2 separate regions of the Homo sapiens genome follow, and region 2 is linked to region 1. The links are contacts of gene promoters, found by promoter capture Hi-C in human tissues and cell types (Jung and others, 2019). All regions are on one chromosome and are shown on one strand. Each heading gives the region's core, a stretch centred on a gene start or on the middle of the fragment in contact. The rest is flanking DNA. Distances are from core to core; before and after follow the strand shown.

What was found. The method cuts DNA at HindIII sites, captures the fragments that hold promoters and counts their contacts. A contact is called where the count stands out against the background at its distance.
Region 2: a contact is called between a fragment that was not itself captured here and the fragment with the promoter of RSPO4 in region 1, in 2 of the 25 tissues and cell types used here (dorsolateral prefrontal cortex and spleen).

Annotation. Positions count from the first base shown.
Region 1 is chr20:1,000,442-1,003,560 of GRCh38, reverse strand. RSPO4 (R-spondin 4) reads left to right here and starts at 1,250. Exons shown (of 5, transcript NM_001029871.4): 1 at 1,250-1,475. The coding sequence starts at 1,397. The HindIII fragment of the contact is 18,767 bases long and covers 1-3,119 here.
Region 2 is chr20:796,806-799,924 of GRCh38, reverse strand. No RefSeq gene overlaps it. Among named protein-coding and RNA genes, the nearest start is that of SLC52A3, 30 kb to the right of the region's middle. The HindIII fragment of the contact is 3,114 bases long and covers 43-3,119 here.

The DNA of each region.
Region 1 (3,119 bases), core at 1-2,500:
AAAAAAAGAAAAAAAAAAGAAAAGAAAAAGGAAGGACAATTGTTCAGCAAGAGAGTGTCAACTGTAAGTTTCTCTAGGCCTCCCTCCAAGGCCTCTTCCATTCTGATGAGTCTGTGCCTGAGAAGTGGCTAAGAGGGGCAGGCACTGGACCAGAATGGCCACTGACCTGCTGTGTGGCCTTGGGCAAGTCACTTGGCCTCTCTGAGCTTCCCTTTGCTCCCCAGAAAAGTGGAATTACTCAGAATACAAACCCAAACCATTGGGTTGTTTTGAAGACTCTAGTATATGTCAAGTTCTTAGCAATGCCCACCATATATGCCTCACAAATGATAGCTAGCATGATTGTTGTTGTTTTTGGTGGTTATAGTGACAGGAGAGGTGAGCATGCTGTCGGGTTGAAGGAGGAATTTTGCTCTGAAAGGGTTAAACTTGAACCAGCTGCTCCCAGTCCTGGTGATAAGGTTGGAGGAAACACAGTCCAGGTCCCCAGCCCTGTCACAAGTGGATTTATGAGGTGCTGGTCACTTTGAGTCGGAGTAGATGATCCCCGCAGACTGCACAGGAAACATTCAGGGTTAGTGGCCAGAAGGGGCTCAGGCCTCTGTTAAAAGAATGAGACAGAGTAGAGAGAAAAAGAGAAAGCCAGGCAGCAGGAGCCCCGCAAACACCCCACCCTGCAGGAGGGGAGAAGGGGAGAGATGGGGTTGAAGGGAGAGACAGAGAAAAGGGAGAACCAGAGGCCCAGCCAGGAGGACACAGACAGTGAGCCTGAGAGAGAGACGGCCGGCAAGAGTAAAGGATGCAGGAACAGCCAGGCAGGGTCGGGGGCAGAGCAGGGGAGCGCGGGCCGCGGAAAGACCGAGAAAGCAGGAGACAAGGAGTTGTCCTTAAGGGCCAGAAGGAGGAACAGACAGAGAAAGGGGACTGGGGGGAGGGAAAGAAAATCACAGGCGCTGAGAGGGCGCGGGGGACCGTACGGGTCTCCGGGTGTCCGCGCATCTGTACCTGCGCGCGCGTGCGTACCTGTGGCTGGCGGTGGGCACGTGCACGTGCTCGGGGGCAGTGCTGGGGGCGGGAAAGACGCAAGACCGCCGGCTGCGGGACAGATCGAACTCGAGGGCCCCGACCCGGGTGACCCCCGCCCCCTCCCCGCGCGCGCTCCCGGGCCCCGAGCTGGTTAACGCGCCGCCCCCGCCGCGCCGGCTCCTCCCCGCCAGGGCAGTGCCCCGGCTCCGCCAACGCCCTCACTAGACCTGGCGGCCGGACCGACCCGCGCCTGGCGGATGCGCCCGGCGCGCCCACAGCAGCCCCCGCGCCCGCCGTGCCGCCGCCGGGACGTGGGGCCCTTGGGCCGTCGGGCCGCCTGGGGAGCGCCAGCCCGGATCCGGCTGCCCAGATGCGGGCGCCACTCTGCCTGCTCCTGCTCGTCGCCCACGCCGTGGACATGCTCGCCCTGAACCGAAGGAAGAAGCAAGGTACAAGGGGTGGCTGGGCAGGGCGGCCGGGCAGGCGCTGCGGGGCAGACCGGGGGCCGGAGGACCGGGGGCGGCGGCTCTGGGGGCATCTGCCTGGTGCCTGGCGCCCTGGGTCCTTCGCTCCTCCAGACGAGTCTCAACCTCACTTAAGATGGGGAGATTGAGGCTCCAGGGCACCCAGTGAGCGAGCCATTGAGTAGGGTGGGCCAAGGAGACTCACCCAGAAGGGAGAGGGTAGCAGGGCTCTCTGTAGTAGCCGCATGGTCAGCAGAAAGGAGGATGGCTTCGTGCAGAGACAGAAGACTCAAGAGCCAGCCTGCGGGGCACAGGGACTAGGAGACAGACTCAGTGGCGTAGAAGCCATTCCAAGCATCCATGCTCGGCCAGGAAGTGACATAGAGAGCCTTGGGCTGGGCGTCCAGAGGCCCCAGTCCCAGCCTCATCACTCACCCTGACTCCTGGTGTCACCTCCCAGAGGGCAGTGATCCTCCATGGCCCCCCTATGTTGAGTTCAGCCAGACCTGAGACCTGAGTTCAGGTTCACTTATTCTAATAGGGGATGACCTAGAAGAAGTCCAGCCCCTCAGAGAGCCTCAGCTTTTCCATCTTCACCTCTCAGGCCACTAGGAAGATGAGCCAAGGTTCAGATTATAAATGTACCAGGGGCCGCATGCGCTCTCACCTGGGAGTCCTATGCCACAGCCTCGCTGTGAGAGTCAGAACATCCTCAGAAGGTGGGTTGGAGGCTGTCCCTGCAGAGCAGGAGTTGGTAGAGCCTGTGCCTCAGAGAAGGGTAAGCGGGTGAGCAAGTGAGCAAATCGCCTGCCTGAGCTGGGCAGCCCTTTGGCCTCCAGGTGCCACTCTTAAGATCAGCAGCCGAATGCCAGCCACTATGCCACGGGTTTTTCATGTCCTAGCTCATCAAATCCCAACTATATGCTCATGACATAGGGGTCGTCCAGTTTTAATAAAGCCTGGGATTCCAAGGCTCAGACTGGTTTAAATAACTGCTGAATTGTCCAGCTGGTGTCTTCTCTCTTTCCAGCCCTGGCATCGGGTCTGAGCAAGGATAAAGGGGAAGGAAAATGAGAGAGGATGGGTTGCCCTCTGGGGCCTTCCATTTGTGTGAAAGCCCTACAGCGACACAGTCACTCCTGGAACGGAGCAGGAAGCAGACAGAGGCTGTGGGAGAATTGGGAGGTGGGATTGGATGGGGTTGGGGAGACTGTGGCCCAAGAGGCTCCAGTTCTTGCTGTGACAGTGGGACAAGGGACTAGAGAGGCGTGTGGTTTTCAGCTGAGCTGGGGTGAGTTTGGGACTCTATGGGGACACTCCTTTGTGAATGGCCTTTGTTTAGTAGTTAGGGGCATGGGCTCTGGAGCCAGGTCAACTGAGTTCAAATCCCAGCTTCCCCAGTTACCAACTGAGTGACTTTGGATAAGTCACTTTGCCTGTCCAATCCTCACTTTACCCATCTGAGGGTCCTTTAGAAGATCTCTGAGATCTTTCTCCATTCTAAACAATACCAAAAAATCAAACAAACCCCCTTTCCCTTCATCAACCCATCTTTTACTTAAGTATCCTGCTCATAAGGAGGATTGTGGGCAAGATGAGTAGCTAAGGACACAGGCTCCTAATGGGTGC
Region 2 (3,119 bases), core at 350-2,849, 200 kb after region 1:
GGCTGTCCTATTTTCCCAAGCCATCTGGCCTGTAGCCCCTACTTGCTCAGCTATTCCTCTAACAGTATCTCTAGTGTAGTTACTAAATCACTGTTGGTTGTAATAGATGTAGTTTATCCAATCTACATGTTTATTAATTGTCACCCACCAAGATATTGACTCAAATCCTGCAGCTATTTGATTCCAGACTTTAAATTGATCTTGTATTCTCCATGGGACCCCAATTGCGTCTAAACAGAAGTGAGAGTCTAAAGACCCATAAGGGGCTTCTCTCACTTTACGATGTCTTATTTTTCCTTCCTCTGGTTGATGAAATGCCAGGGTGAAAGGGATAGCTAGTTGGACTAAAGCACAAGTGCCAATCCAGTTATTCGGCAGAGTGTCCAGTAAAGGTCCACCACAATACCACCACACTTCTGCTAGGGGATGAACAAGGGCTGGCTGATTGGTAAGCTTTTGAAAGTTCTTTTTCTTTTTTTTCGAGAGAGAGTCTCGCTCTGTCGCCCAGGCTGGAGTGCAGTGGCACGATCTCGGCTCACTGCAAGCTCCACCTCCTGGGTTCACGCCATCCTCCTGCCTCAGCCTCCCAAGTAGCTGAGACTACAGGCGCATGACGCCACGCCTGGCTAATTTTTTTTTTTTTTTTTGTATTTTTAGTAGAGATGGGGTTTCATCGTGTTAGCCAGGATGGTCTCGATTTCCTGACCTTGTGATCCGCCTGCCTCGGCCTCCCAAAGTGCTGGGATTACAGGCATGAGCCACCGCGCCTGGCCAAAAGTTCTTAAGCTCACTGCATCCCTTCAGGTCTCCAAGGAACACTAAGTTTCCTCCCTGTCATGAGAGACACGAAGTAAACTTAGTGTTGGGAGATGGAAGCTGGATGGCCCTTGGGGGCTGACCCACAAGGTGTCAAACTTCGGGATATAGCAGAGAGAGAGCTTGGCACAACTTCTTACCCCAGGCTATAGAATCCTGGAAAAGAGCTACCATGCAGCCCATGCCCGGTCAACTGGAGGACCACCCTAGTGGAAAGGGGACAATCTGGGCCTCTGGCCTGCTGTGCGCACAAGCATAACAATTGCTTTTGTTTAACGTGTGGATGAAATATTTGATCCATTCCAACCAAACATTTACATCTTGGTATCCTGTCTCAATTGCCAGTTTGTTTTAAGTCTTTAACTTCTACCATCGCTATCTTGGCCTTGTCGTTAGATAGAGGAGGAACAATGGTTCCGTTGTGAGAGGTTTTGGAAAAAGGCTCAGAGGCAGGTGCAGACAGCAGGGGATCAAAGAAGTGCATTTCAAAGAATCCAATAGGGTCTGTCCCTGAAACTTCAGCCCCCATACCATAAAACTGGCTTAAAGAAGGGAACCAGCTTAGAAAAGAGGAAGAATTTTGTGGGCTCAAAATAATAACCTGTATAGGGTTGCACTGGTTTAGCTGAGAGTTAGTGGGCACTGTCCCTTTAGTAAAACGAATGTATGAATTTAGGAAATTACAAAAACTGGTTGGGGCAATCCATCCTTGCTCTTTAATGGTCCACAGAACTTTGGACCAACTATGGCTTAAAAGCTCTACATCACTGGGGGAAGACTCCTGGTTGCCACTGGGATCTTTATAGAAATCTCCCCAGATTAAATGGTCCCGATTCACTAATGCCTAGTCTGAGGAGAGCCAGGAGGGACAGAGGTATCTGAAGTAGAGAGCTTTCTTTGGCTTGACAAATCCCCACAGGATATAACAAGGCAAGCATCAAATGCAATAGTTGAGGTGAAATTGACTTGGTTATGTTAATAACTATATGGTCAGCAATAGAGTGAGGAAAGAAAAAAGAGTAATAGAATAGATGAAAGGGAGTTAAATTCTTCTTAGCTTTAGTTTAGTAGGGTTTTCCCCTGGGACTATGGCCCACGACTCTGGAGGGGGCGGTGCTTTCTTGACTTGGGTGTGGTGAGTCCATCCTCTCTCTGCTGTGCGGACTGCGGTTTCAGTAGTTAGGAGCACCAAGTAAGGACCTTCCCAGGCTGGCTCAAGCTTCTCCTCTTTCCAGCTCTTGATGAGGACGTGATCCCCAGGCTAATGTTGATGCACCAGGAACTCCAAGGGTGGTGCCTGTGCTAATAGACCTTTAGTTTTAAGAGAGGAGAAAGTAGAACATAGACCAAGTATATAATTTTTAAGGAATTGATCATTTGTTTCAAAGGTAGGAATATCAACAGTGGAGTGCAAATAAGGTAATCCATAGAGCATCTCATAAGGAGAAAGACCAATGTCTTTCCATGGTGCAGTTCAAATTCTCAGCAGGGTGATAGGAAGATACTTGGTCCATGGCAACCAAGTCTGTAAGACTAATTTGGTTAAGTGGTTCTTTAGAGTCTAATTCATTCTTTCTACTCTCCCTGATGAGGGTGGGTGCCAGGGAGTATGGTGTTCCCATCTAATGTCTAATATTTTGGAATAGCTTTTTAATAATGTGTGTGGTGAAATGAGTTCCATTGTCTGAGTCAGTATTTTCCGTTAGTCGAAACCTGGGTACTATATTTTCAATTAGGGCCTCAACTACATTACTGGCTGTTGCATTTGAAAAGGGGATAGCTTCGACCCAGGGAGTGAGGTGGCCTACTATCACTAGTAAATATTTTAGATGATCTATCAGAGGCATTTCTGTGTAATCAACTTAGATACTTTGGAATGGCCTTTAGCCTGGATTCCTTCCCCTGAGAGGTAATCATTTTATAGTATGTCTATTAGTTTTCTTACATACTAAGCAACTATCTGTAACCTGTTTTGCCAGGGTATAAATTCCTATACAACCATAAACTCTGAGAACTGCGTCACACATGGCCTGGGGCCCAAAATGGGTCCCCTGATGTAGTTGGGATACGACTTCCCTCATAAAGGGTTTAGACAACATTTCTCTCTGGTCTGGCAGTATCTACTTTCCTTCTGAATTCTCTTTAGCACCTATTTTTATTAGTTTCTCTTTTTCGGTGGAAGAGAAAATGGGGATTATGGTAGGAGGAGGGAGGTAGGGAGTTAAGTGAAAAACACGCATTTCAGAAGACACAGCAGCCTGCTTGGCTACCTGATCTGCTAGGTTATTTCCTCAACTTTCAAA